Linked DNA regions of Homo sapiens: all the other regions are linked to region 1. The links are contacts of gene promoters, found by promoter capture Hi-C in blood cells and fetal thymus (Javierre and others, 2016). All regions are on one chromosome and are shown on one strand. The core of a region is centred on a gene start or on the middle of the fragment in contact, and the rest is flanking DNA. Distances in the headings are between cores, read along the strand shown. Region 1 holds the start of CALHM6 (calcium homeostasis modulator family member 6). Region 2 overlaps TRAPPC3L (trafficking protein particle complex subunit 3L). Region 3 has its middle 17 kb from the start of DSE.

What was found. The method cuts DNA at HindIII sites, captures the fragments that hold promoters and counts their contacts. A CHiCAGO score of 5 or more calls a contact.
Region 2: a fragment that was not itself captured here is called in contact with the fragment with the promoter of CALHM6 in region 1 in 9 of 17 cell types (total B cells, naive B cells, monocytes and 6 more); the score reaches 25.8 in total B cells.
Region 3: a fragment that was not itself captured here is called in contact with the fragment with the promoter of CALHM6 in region 1 in 6 of 17 cell types (neutrophils, total B cells, monocytes and 3 more); the score reaches 13.3 in neutrophils.

What each region holds. Positions count from the first base shown.
Region 1 is chr6:116,458,290-116,462,624 of GRCh38, reverse strand. CALHM6 (calcium homeostasis modulator family member 6) reads right to left here and starts at 1,250. Exons shown (of 3, transcript NM_001010919.3): 1 at 1,196-1,250; 2 at 171-753. The coding sequence starts at 695. It overlaps CALHM6-AS1 (CALHM6 antisense RNA 1), which reads left to right. Exons shown (of 2, transcript NR_174951.1): 2 at 1,431-2,147. It also overlaps the pseudogene KRT18P22. RefSeq lists a silencer at 185-264 and enhancers at 645-724, 735-844. The HindIII fragment of the contact is 9,761 bases long and covers 1-4,335 here.
Region 2 is chr6:116,523,809-116,527,963 of GRCh38, reverse strand. The region is part of intron 3 of TRAPPC3L (trafficking protein particle complex subunit 3L); the gene reads left to right. It overlaps CALHM5 (calcium homeostasis modulator family member 5), which reads right to left. Exons shown (of 2, transcript NM_153711.5): 2 at 3,176-4,155. Among named protein-coding and RNA genes, the nearest start is that of CALHM5, 14 kb to the right of the region's middle. RefSeq lists a silencer at 932-1,132. The HindIII fragment of the contact is 5,494 bases long and covers 1-4,155 here.
Region 3 is chr6:116,351,622-116,356,262 of GRCh38, reverse strand. It overlaps a transcript of DSE not described here. Among named protein-coding and RNA genes, the nearest start is that of DSE, 17 kb to the left of the region's middle. RefSeq lists an enhancer at 3,426-3,535. The HindIII fragment of the contact is 8,563 bases long and covers 1-4,641 here.

The DNA of each region.
Region 1 (4,335 bases), core at 1-2,500:
TTTTATTCAGATATTCTCTTGACGGCAAATTAGATGCAAGGAGCCATTCTAGATTTTCTTAGGGTACTGTATATCTGGAGAAAAGTCACCGATTTTTCCCTCACCCCAGCGGCCCTGAGAAAGCTCGGCCTCTCGGCTCCTCCCAAACGCCCCCAGCGCCAGCGGCAGACCTGCGACTGAGCCTTCAGATCCTTCAGGAGGTCCTGCACGTCCGACGCCTTGGCCTGGTTGCACGGCACCAGCGGCAGCTCCGCGGCGCAGCTGCGGTTGCGGCCGAGGCACAGGCGCTGCGCGAAGGCCGCGCTCCCGGTGGCCGCGCACTCGTAAAAGGCGCCCCCGAGCAGCGCCACGGCCACCCAGGTGAGGGGCGCGAGCGCGGCGGCCGCGCTGATTTGCGTGCACACCAGGGAGCCGCGCAGCGCCGATCCGCAACTCGCGCGGGCGCTGGAGCAGCATCCGGTGAGCAGGCGCCACGTGCGTGCGCTCAGCACGTAGCCCAGGAGGAAGAGCGCGAGCGCCGGCACCAGCAAGAAGACCAGGCCGTAGGGCAGGTTCCAGGCGGCGCTGCACGGGCACTGGAATGCCACGGCGGAGAAGATGCGCTCCCCGCCCGCCGTCAGCAGGGTCACCAGGCCGTAGCCCAAGGCGCTGTGGTGCTTGACGTGCAGGTCCAGCACCGCCCGAAACTTCTCCATGAGCCTCGTCCCCCGGGGCGTCGCGCACAGGCCCAGATCCTTCTGCCTCTTCGTTGTCCTGCTTGTCAAATGGTTTTGGTGGGATGGGGACCGGGGCTTTCCACTCTGCGAGAAGCAGCCTTTTTTTTTTTTTTTTTAAAGGGAAGAGGGCTTCTCAGACCTTCCTAAAGTTTCACTTTCTCATTTCAGCCACACCACCTCTGGTTAACAGAACCAGGCAAGCAAACACCCCCAGGACCTTGACTTCTCTGGCACCCACCCCATTCCAAAGGCAGAGGCACCAGTTATCTTCCTCCCCCAATTCAGGAACTCTGACAGAAGGTTGACCTTGTTCCTTTATTACCACCAATCTGACAACGAACCAGGAAACTAACCTTCTTGACCCACGGCCGCCAGTTGGAAAAACTGGGAAATACCAGATTTTCCTCTATTGCAGCCACCCTAGTTACTAAGCCAGATCACAGTAAAACCAAATAATTATCAAAAAACTGATTACTTACGGGAAACATTATTCAAGGACAAATTTCTGGTTCCTCTTCCATAAGCTAAATCAGCAAAGTCCAGCTCAAGTTCTGGTACTTCTATGATGGGCGGCACCCTTTCCATCTCCCTACCGGACAGAGCCACCAGCCTAGTTCACACTGACTCTTCTCTCCTCTGCCTGATCTCCTTCAGGACATTAGACCAAATATACTGTATTGATTTACTCGTCAATACAATGTTCTTTTCTTTCAGATATGTCATAACACTGTCAATGCCTGGAGGAGAGTAAAATTCTGACTCTGACCACCAAGCTGATCTGCACAGAAGGGGATACATGATTATTCAAAGAATGCTAGTTGAACCCAAAATTTCAAACTGCAGCTACATCTATCTAATGTTGTTTCCTCCACCTTCAGTTTTCTCAAGCAGCGTTGTTCTGACACAAACACTGTAACCACTTTTGTGATATTGAGCCTTACTCTGTGTGACTCCAGACTGAGCTGAGGTGTGCTTGAAAGAACATGGGCTTTGAAGTCAAGTGCATCTTGTCTGTGGTGTGTTTAACAAGTATGCCCCTCTGAGACACAGCATCCTTATTTGTAAAAGAAGGATAATAGTGCCCACTTTTCAAGATTACTGACATGAGTAGATTGAGTAGCATATGTAAAGTGCCTTTACATATAGGATATGTCTGTTAAATGAATGATCAGTGTGAGAGTTTTCCCCTTAAAATGCAATTTGGGGAATAGACAACAAATAATTACATTGTACATAACCTAAGAATCTTGATGAATACTGAATTTTGAATTTTAAACGAGGATCAATTCAGTGGATAGTATTAAGTGACTCAATGACTCTGCTACCTTAAGAGAATTGGTGTACACCTTAGCTGTCTGCTTCACCACAAGGAGAGTATCTGGATATGGAGCTTGGGTGGGCAGTTCACAATGAAATGGTTCTTATTGGTGCCCATCCACCAGGCTTGCCTTATTTTATCTGGAAAGAATAGGTAGCCCATGGAACCAAGTGAATTTTTAGAGAATGGACAAGAAATGTATTATTCTTTTCTTAGTCCAACTTGCCTTCTTAACTACTCCCTCTCCAACACCACCAGCAGGGTGCCTAGCGTAGTGCCAAAAGCTGTCATTCCATAGTGATGTGGTAAATAGACATCTTTTTTCTATGTGTTTAGGGGCCAGCCCCAGATGAGGGTCTTCATGGTCATGCAGGAAAGTTGGGGCCCTCTTCTCTGAGATTAGACCAGATACTGCTAGGCTTCCTGTCAACTTGCAGCAAAGTTGCGTGTTTGAAGCGAATCACTTCTGCTCTGACTGTTATCTTTGTAATTTGTCATCTCCCAAGATAAATTTCTTCCCCTGTGCCTTGAGTAACTCTCCTCTTACTGCTGGACTCTTCTTCACCTCTACCATAATACTCTAAGATGTGTCCTCTCTCGTCCACCCTTTCCCATATTCCATCATGCAGAAACATCACTATATCCACAACCTTTGTGCAGATGGCTTTATCCAAATCTCCCCTAACCGAAACCTAATAAAAATGCATCCTTCTGTCTTCTTGAGTGAGATTAATTTATTCTCCCACATCTCTCAAACCAAGAGGGATGGCTGGCATTTTCCTGGTTACCTGCTGATAGCCATACCAGGGTTTTACCACTGTGCTATAATAGTTTATCATCCACTGAGGCTCAATCTAATCAGCACCATCTCCTCCTTCACCTCATTCCTATGGTCTGTTTTCATTCCCTTCATTTTTTAAGACTCTAATGAAGTCCATCACCTTCTCTTCCCTGGCTTCTGTTATTTAGTCAAGGATTTGTTTGAAATATGTTTACTTACAGAAACTTTTATCTATCAGCCCCCTTCCCCAACTAGATTAATTCATTTGTTAACCAGTTATTAATTAGTTCATTTGTTCATTCAGTCATTCATTTAAATGTTTAATAAGTACTCAGAATATGTCAAGTACCTATCAAAAGTGCCTGGTATTGCTGGATACAACAAGGAAGAAGACACAGGTATCCTGCCGTCTTTGAACTTACAGTAGAGATGATATAGGAAATGGAGAGGAGGGGTCCTAAAGATTACGCACAGGATAAATTGGAGTTAGAGAGTGTCCTGAAAGAGCCTCTGTGAGAAACTGACATTTAATCTGAATGAGTCTGGAGTACAAAGGAGCTTGGTTAGAAAGAAGGCTAGAGTGATGGGAGCATTGAGAATGACAGGCAAGTTGGCACATCATGAGGCCAAAGCTGCAAGTGGAAGGTCAGGTTTAGGTGCTTCACAGACCAGAATATGTAGTCTGCAATTCTGCCTCTGAAACTTTCACAGACTGAGCTGCATCCTGACATATTGTCTTGTCAGCTTGTGTCTCTAAACACCACCTCCTGGGTTTGCTACTTCTGTGCTCTCCCAAACCCAACTCTCCCAGATGCAATGATCATTCAGAACTTAGTACAGGTTTCTATAATTGAGAGTCCAGGTTTTGCCTGCCAGCCTGAATGTTTCCCCAGCACTTGGTCTTGAGTCTAGTACCCTGCCATCCACTCCCACCACCACTGGATTGACTGGTTCTAGCTCTGGGTCTATTGAAGATTCCCAGCCCTCCATACCCAGGTCTGTTCTGAGAGGATATTGCTCAGAAGTTCAGCCCTTAGTGGAAATTGACTAACACCCTAATGGTGTGGAGAGGTAGACTAAATAATATTTTAAATGTCTTTACACTTTTGAAAGCCTGTGATTTGCTTCAGCTGTTAAGAAATGAGTAGTAGAATGTCATCGGTAAAGCCTGAGTCCTGTCCTCTTGCTCTCCTCCCTGGACAGTATGAGCTTCACCACTTGCTCCACCTTCTCCACCAACTACCATTCCCTGGGCTCTGTCCAGACACCCAGCTTCATCGCCCAGCTGGTCAGCAGTGCAGCCAGTGTCTATGCAGGCACCCAGGACTCTGGTTCCCGGATCTCTGTGTCCCGCTCCACCAGCTTCTGGGGCGGCATGGGATCCGGGGGCCTGGCTGCAGGGATGGCCAGGGGTCTGGCAGGGATAGCAGGCATCCAGAATGAGAAGGAGACCATGCAAAGCCTGAACGACTGTCTGGCCTCCTACCTGGACAGAGTGAGGAGCCTGGAGACCGAGAACT
Region 2 (4,155 bases), core at 1,151-3,650, 64 kb before region 1:
AATTTTACTTTATGTTCTGGGATACATGTGCTGAACGCGCAGGCTTCTTACATAGGTATACATGTGTCATGGTGGTTTGCTGCTCCTATCAACCTGTCATCTAGGTTTTAAGCCCTGCATGCATTAGGCATTGGTCCAAATGCTCTCCCTCCTAGGGGAGAAGTTTTGAATCTTCCGGGTATCCCAGCACATGAATATCTAGGCTGCTCTGCCTTTGCATTGAAGATTATTGGTTTTATTTCTGCTGTTTAAGTTATTTGGATGAAACTCATGTGAAACTGACTTATGAAACTGTAGGGAAGGCAAAACTTCACCTCTATCCTCTTAGGATTTTTTTTTAAAGTTGTCCTGAGAATTAAATTGACATGAGACAGATCAACAGAAAAAAAGCATACACATTTACTTAACACATAGCATGGGAATCTTTTTTTTTTTTTTTTTTTTGTTTTGAGACGGAGTCTCGCTCTGTCGCCCAGACTTGAGTGCAGTGGCTCGATGTCGGCTCACTGCAAGCTCCGCCTCCCCGGTTCACGCCATTCTCCTGCCTCAGCCTCCCGAGTAGCTGGGACCAGGCGCCCGCCACCAAGCCTGGCTAATTTTTTGTATTTTTAGTAGAGACGGGGTTTCAGCGTGTTAGCCAGGATGGTCTCGATCTCCTGACCTCGTGATTCGTCCGTCTCGGCCCCCCAAAGTGCTGGGATTACAGGCGTGAGCCACCGCGCCGGGCCGGGAATCTTTAATAAAGAAATGGAGACCCAAGGAGTTGAACACTTACCTACTGAATTGGACAAAGAATAGTAATTTGTGAAAAGGCAACTAAATTATTTGGGGAGGCAAGAAGACAAGAATTATTTTAATAAAATCTGTACAGAATCCTCTCAGCCTCAATTGTCCCTCCTTGATGTTAAGAGTGTTGCTTTCTTTCTAGTACAGGGAGGATATCCTTCACATGGGAATTTCTTCTCCTGCCTTTAAGAAACAGCAGGAAGGTCAGAGCAATCTTGTGACTGCTGCTTTTCAAGTGCCTATAACTCAAAATAATGAATATGTATGTCAAAGTGGCAATATTTTGGAGTGGCACATTCTTAAGTCCTTTAAAACAAACCTAAGTGGACTGAAAATAGCAATAGCTTTGCTATTTATTAATGTAACTATTTACAATAAAATTCTTTATTAAGAAAAAAAACCATGGAGTAAATACCCTGGGAAACAAAACTCTAAAGCAAGATCTGTCTGGGTCTAAGGATTCAGAGACACATCAGGAACACCAAATCCCAGGCCATCCCTGCCTGGTGTAATGTTTAGTTTGTGTCAGAAGTAAGATTTTGTTCAGACTTGCCGTGACCTCTCAGTGGTACTCCCGGGCAAGGGTTATCAATTCTAGCTCCTGCATAGACTCACCTGGAGCTTTCCAAAAAATCCTGACTTTCAGAACTTACTTTTGACCCAATAAATTGTGGTCTCTGGGAATAAGGCACAGGCATTAGAACTTTTTAAATGCTCTCCAAGTGATCCTAATTGGCCTCCACTGTTTAGAACAAGAGTTTCCTAACTTTGTTCTGTGGAACTCTAGGGTGATTCCTATAGAAGTGAGGCTGCAGGTTAAGGCTGCCACGCCTCCAGACCCTCCATCCAAATTCTTCTCCTAGTTACCTCTCTTTTTATGTCTTTTACATGCTTCAAATAAAATAAAAATCCATTTGGAAAAAAAGTGGAAAACACTAGAGAGATATGATCAAAGTGGAACAGTTTTGATTGAAACAAAGTCCATCTCACCTTTAGTTGGGACAACAAACTTGTCTATAGGGAAAGAGGTAGGGAAGGAGGCTGTGTTTTTGAGGACATTTCTCAAAATAAGGTGGAAATGGATCAGTTTGTAAGCATATATTTCTTTAATTGCTTGACTTCATGCATAGGGTCGGTGAAACCCACTCATAGTTAGCCAACTGTTTAAGGAAGTAACCCTTTTAAAAACACTGATTACTATCCCTCATGTTTCCTCCGTGACACAAATACCAACAAAACCCCTGGGAGAAATAATTGTGTTCTGTTGAAACCATCAGCAATTATTATGATTGCAGAAGCACATCTCTTTATGATAAAATATAGGCACAGAATGTTTTTACAATGCAACTAGTCACCATTTTATAGGTTATAAACTGCCGAATAATGCATATATCTTAAGGTACTGTTCTTAAGCAAAGTTACTTAATATCATGAGTTCTTACTTTGCTGACTTAATCCTATTTCTTGAAATGGCCCAGTGAATGTGATTAGGTGAAGTAATTAATTCATTTTCCCATTTTAATCTCAAGTTTTCATTGCAATTTAAAACTTGTGAAGATTTCTCTCTGGCATTGTTGTGGCTGTAGGTACAGGAAACCCAAAATTATAAAAAGATAGCTGGCCAGACAGAAAGGTGGACTCTAAAATATATAAAAATTAAAGTTTGGGGACTATTTGAAATCTTTTATAAACTTTCCACTGCTAAAAATTCCTTCTATATCAATTGTCATTTTTATCTAAGGAAATTTTTAAAAAAATAAAATGGAAAGTTTACTTCATTGATACAGTAGGAGCATAGTTTGAGCATAACTATCCTAAATATTTAGAAACCCAAGGTGAAAAGCTGTTCAGGATGGGAAAGAATCCAGGGGCCCAGACAGAGGCCAGGAAACTTGGAGATAGACCTCTATTCCCAAGAGGATATTAAGAATACAACTGGCTGGGAATTCACACACCACTGGCTGTAAGATTTAGGACAACAGAGTTGAGACTTTGAGATGTACTAATTCAACATCCTCATTTTACAAATGAGGGAACATACTTTGAAAAGTTATATGAACACTCAAGAATATACTAAAATGAGGCAGAATTTGTGTGATGGAAATTAGGATTAGACACATGTAGGTCCAAATTGATGTTCAATAACTTAACAGTGGCATAACCACCTTAGCCTTTTTGGACTCTAGCATTATTTATAAACATAGAAAAGGTAATACCTGCCTCCCAGTATGCTTGTGAAACTTAGATGAAACAAGAGCCAAGACTTCAAGTTAACTTAGTTTTTTAAATTAAATTAATGAAATTCCAATAGGAATATAGGAGTGGTTTAGTTTTAAATTCAAAACAATATAGTTTCTTGAAAATGATATAGCACAGAAAGGAAAATAAGTTGAAAATTTTCCAACTTTTTTATTGAAATATAAGAAAATGATTCTCCACAATGAAAGAGTAAACTTGTAGCAGGAAAAATCGTTCCAAAAAGACCTACCTGAAGGCCTATTTAACATTTTTGGACATGAAAGATAAAGAAACCAATGAGAATATAGGATAAAACATCTTGTTAGTAATAAAGAAAGAAATAGAGATGGCATCAGAAATCAGGCTGTGGCCACCTCAGCAATATTCAATGACAAAAGACAATGAAGTAATGCTTACAATACACTCATGTAGAGAAAGTATGAACCAGACAAGCTGTCCTTCAATTCGAGAACAGGCCAACAGGCTGAATATGTAAGAATTCAGAGAATAGCATTCCTGTGAGCCTTTGCTGAGAATGATACTAGAAGGTAAACTCCAGCTAAGCAGGGGGTGATTGACAAAACTTCAGCAAAATAACTGAGGTGACCATGTCATTTATTTTGTTGTGTACCTTATGAAATTTTTCAAACATATACAAATGTAAAGAGAATAATGTAATGAATTCCGTGTACCTACCATCCAGCTTCAATAGTTTCCATATTTTGCCAATCTTATTTCATCTTTCAGCTTTCTCCCTAAACTCTTTTTTCTAGAGTATTTTAAAGAAACTTCTAGACATCATGGCAGTTCACACATAAATATTTAAATATACATCTCTAACTGAAGAACTTTTTAAAAAACATAAATCGGCACACCATTACCACACATAGCAAAATTAATAATTCTCTAAAAATCATCTAATATTCATTCATATTTTCCTAAATATCTCAAAGATATCTTGTTACAGTTGGTTGTTGGAAACAGGATACAAATAAGGTCTATATAGCATATCTGGTTATTAAGTCACTTATATCTCCTTTATTCTCCTTTCTTAATACTGTTAATCTGTGGGGAGACTGAGTCATCTGTAAAATGGAATGTTCTGTTAGATCTAGATGTACCTGGTTGTTT
Region 3 (4,641 bases), core at 293-2,792, 110 kb after region 1:
TCTCTTTGATGCTCTGAGCCATAGTTCCAAAAACTAGAACTATTTACCAAAATTACTGGAGGAACTTAAAAATGTCTGAGCCCACCCCATTACCTTGGCCATGGATCATGTCTTATATCTCTCTAGATAAATCGGAAGTGCAGCCTGTCCATACCAATCTACAGGACAGCGTTTAAAAGCCTCTTCACTCTGAGCTAACAGCCTTCATGCCATTCAGGGGTGGGTTGAATAAGGGAAGCAATAGTCATGTGGTTAGCATCCTCTTCAGGGATCCTCCAGATAGTTATTGGGCGAACTATGTTTTGTCTAGTATGTGAGCTGGAAGATTTCAACACTAATTCTATGACAGTGTAATTGTCTTGTTATTGAAGGCTATTTAACTTTTTCAAGTTAAAATGTGTTAAAGAACAATGAGCAAATGTAAAACAAAGGAGGTCAGATTGTACTTTGCCAGGATGTGTCCACTTGTTGCCTTGATGGAGCTGCAGCTGTAGTTATAGATCTGCTTTTGAGCCTGCTTAGTATTTGCATTGTAGACTGGTTGCTCACAATCTTCCTAGGACTGATTCTCACCTTTGAGTGTCTGCAATTTAGTATTAACAGATTAGTTGAGATAACATATCAAATTGAGCAGTCCCATAATGCTTTTATTTTACTGACATGAAAGAAGCGGGTATATGTATTGGAAAATTCGCTTTTAGACTTCTGAAATCATTTAAGCATGGACAAAGGAAGCTACTCTACTAGGGCACAAAACAGAAATTAGGCTAAATGAGCCCTAGCCAGCATTATCCTAAAAGGAAAGGAAATAGGAGTCTGTGGCCTAATTGGAGTAGAAGGCTTAAAAGTATCAGCTGAAAAACAATTGGTAAATAAGCAGTAACCTGAGGCTCTACAGTCTGGTCATACCTGAAGTGCTCAAATTAGAAGAATGTGAAGGTTTGAGGAAGGTACACAGAAATTGTGAGTCTCATATAATGCTGGGGGAAGTATAAATTGGTACAATACTTTGAGAGAGGATTCGGAGGACAAATATGTAACAAATCTTTAAAAGGTATGTAAATTTGCATCCAGCAATTCCACTCCTTAGAATATATGCACGTATGTGTGAAACTGTATGTATGCAAAGTTGTTCAACATGGTGTTGTTTAAATTAGCAAAATACTGAAAACAACTCAAGTGTCCAATAATAAAAATGCTTAAATGAATTACGCATATAGGTATGTGTGCCTTTATATATGTATGTGTCTATGTAAAAATGTGTAGTGTGTATTATATATGTGAATGAGTACAGTGAAATTGACACCAGTGTCAAATTTGGCGTATTTCCATGGAAAGCACATTTCATTAAAAAGCCAATTACAGATTGGCTTTTTATAAAACCTGTCACTATTTTATTATAAAACCTGTCACTATTTTATTATAAAAAGTAATGTAAAACATGTCACTATTTTATTATAAAAAGTAATGTAACCAAAAAATATAATTACAGGAAAAACTGTGGGAAAATAAACAGAAAATTATAATTTTTATATAGATGTTATAAGAATGCAAGTAATTTTCATTTCATTTACATAATTATGAACATGGATTTCATGTTTCTGCCCAGTGGGGTCTGTTTTCAGATTAGACCCATTCTGAAGATAAATCACCTCACCAAAAGCCAGAAAATACCATCCTTTCCTTAGATGGGAAAAGCAAGTTTCTTGAGCCCCTTCCCATTTTGACAGAGTTGTAACTGAAGTGCTTGTAAGGCCAGATTGTATGACAATTCCATGAGCTTCCTGGTTCCCTTACTGTACAAACCCTCCACCCACTCTCCCTTAAAATAACTCATGCCTTTTGAGACAGCATGAGGGGGTGACTCTGTTTCTTATACCAGAAAAAAGAGCCCGACTCAAGAACAATGACTGACCTCCAGAGCAGTTGTAAGGTCCACATGAGGTTATGTTGTCTAAGCTCCTAGTAGCACATAACACACAACAGGCTTTCAATAAATATTACTTACTGTTATCCCATCTCCTTAAAAATTTTAAAGGGATTTTGCTCATTAGAGTTATATAGTCTGGGTCAACATTTACTTAACAAATCTCTAATCCTTGCCTCATATATCAAGGACCTGAACTAATATTATTCTTTTTTTCTTTAAGAGAAAGACTATATTTCAGGAAATACTATATCCAAGTATTGCTGTAGATATAGGTGTACATTTGGAAGCCATCTGAAGTCTAGATTTTTGAAAGTGGTGTCATATCACTCTTTAAAAGTAGATAGGCATTATAATTCAGTATCTGAAGACTGCTTGCCTCTACTCTAAAATATTTTCTAAGAGTCTCAGTATATGACATAGGAGTATGTTTAGATTGATTATAAGATTTTTTTAAATTTAAAATAATTACCAAATTGTTTTACATCAGCCATTAAAGCTCACAAAAACCAAACATCTTTATAGACAATCTCTCATCAAATGAGAACAGTTATAAAATAAGCTAGATATCTGTCTGAATCCCCTTATGTGACAACAGTAAGTGTCCAATGGTTGGAGACAGTCAGATCTATGATCAAGTAACAGCTGTGCAATGTATTTGTTCCATAACCTTAAGCAAATTTACTTAGCCTCCCCAAATCTCAGTTTTCTGGGAATATCAATGCCTCATCTTTTGAGAGTATAAGGATGAGAGATAAAGAATGTAAAGTGTTGGACACAATGCTAGGAAGTGTAAATGCTCAATGGTAGCTAGTATTATTATGATTGAAACAAAGTTTATTTAAAGAACCTTACTGAGAAACCTTTATAAGATTTTTCTGGAAATTAAGAAGGCACTCATGAAGAAAGATATTTATTCCAAGTAACTATCTATCACATAAACAGATTTATTTGGAATACTACAAAGGAAAATATCCCTTAATTTTCCACCCAATATTACCTAACACACACATGCACAATTCCATCATGACTACTCCCCCTTAGCAGTCTTTTCATTTTTCCAGAGCAAAAGTAGGACATAAAGTTCCTTCTCATGAACCAGAAGTTAGAGGTCATCATCAGTTCATTTGGAAAAATATCCATCAGTGTTTATACACACACAGACCCACACACACAAACACACATTTACTCCTATGTATATTTTAACTATAAATTAGTAAAGACCTAGATTTTAATAGTTAGCTAACATAAATGAATGAGGTAGTGGGGAAGCCCAACCACTTATGACCACAAGACTCATATCTCTCTCTTACCCTATTAAGGGACTGTTATAAGTCCCTGATGGACTTGTCTGACAAACACATTCCACAGTCATACAAATCATTCATTCTGGAAGAGAGAAAGAGAGAGAGGAAGGAGGAGGGGGGAAGGAGAAAGAAACGAGGAAAGAAAGGAAGACTTCACGTGTGGGGCATGTACGTGGGGTGGGCTGGAAAGCTAGGTGAGTTTTGGAAAGCCTATTTTTTGCCCACCCAGAGCTTGCCCAGACTTGCCCTAAGGCTGTGTTGCAAAATGGGTAATGATTTCTCTGCCAGGTCTGTTATTGGAATGAGTAAACTCTCAGACCTAACATTTTTTTTTTCTTGGCCATCTTACTCCTTCAACACAAACATCTGAGGCTGTGGTGGTTTTAAAAAGCATCCCAAAGTTCCTGTTTTTTATTTCTCAATTTCTTGATGTTTACTATCCAGTTCAAGAGCTACTGACCTCTGCCTCACCCAGCACTAACCCTGTGGATTTTAAGTCCTTATGCTTGGAGAACCACTGCTCCAAGCACAACTAGCCTCCATTCAGAGTCTAGAAATTAGGATCAATAACCTATGCAAATTCAGCACCATATTGAGAGATTCTTCTGGAGCAGGTATTTTATCATTTGAGGAATCCTTGTGTTTGGAGAACCCTTGTGATCAAGAGAAAAAATGGTTCTGACCAGCCATTTTAGTTGAATTGATTCTTGGATGCAGGAACAGGATAAGTTAAGGTCTGAAAGGACTGGTTGTACCAAGGAGGCCATGAGTAGATAGATAATAGTTGACTAGCTCACACAAATATATGGAGAGTGGTGATTCTAAAAAAGTATAAACACTTAAAATCAAGAAATGTTATAGCTAGACATCTAATTGGTTCCTTTCATTTACATATTTACAGGCAGAATTGAGGTTCAGAGATATTAACTAACTTTTCCAAGGGTTTGAGCAGAGACTGAAATGAGCTTTGTTTACAGGCCAGTGTAACCAAGGAGGTTACACAAATTAATAAAGATTTAATATCGGGATTTAAATTTCCCATAAACTAAAGAGTACCACTGTGGGATAGAAGAACTGCAGTTACTAGAAAGGTGCATGATAAAATGTAAAAGACAACTCTCCAGGTTCTACCAAAGTTGGGATAAATATTCCTTAAGGCCTTTGTCACTATTCATAGTTCACCAGGGAGCTTTCTGATTATAAACTGAAATTCCTAAATTCTCTGAGTTTAGAATTGGAATACTCTGATGACAGAAAAGACTATTTTAATCAGCAAAGACTGCTTATTTGAACTAAGTTGATAAAGTTGAGTTTCTAAAATCACTTACTGAGGACTTTGAATTCATGAAAAACTATCCAAGATGGTCAATATCCCTTATTCTTTTTTTTCCTCTTTGCAGAACATTA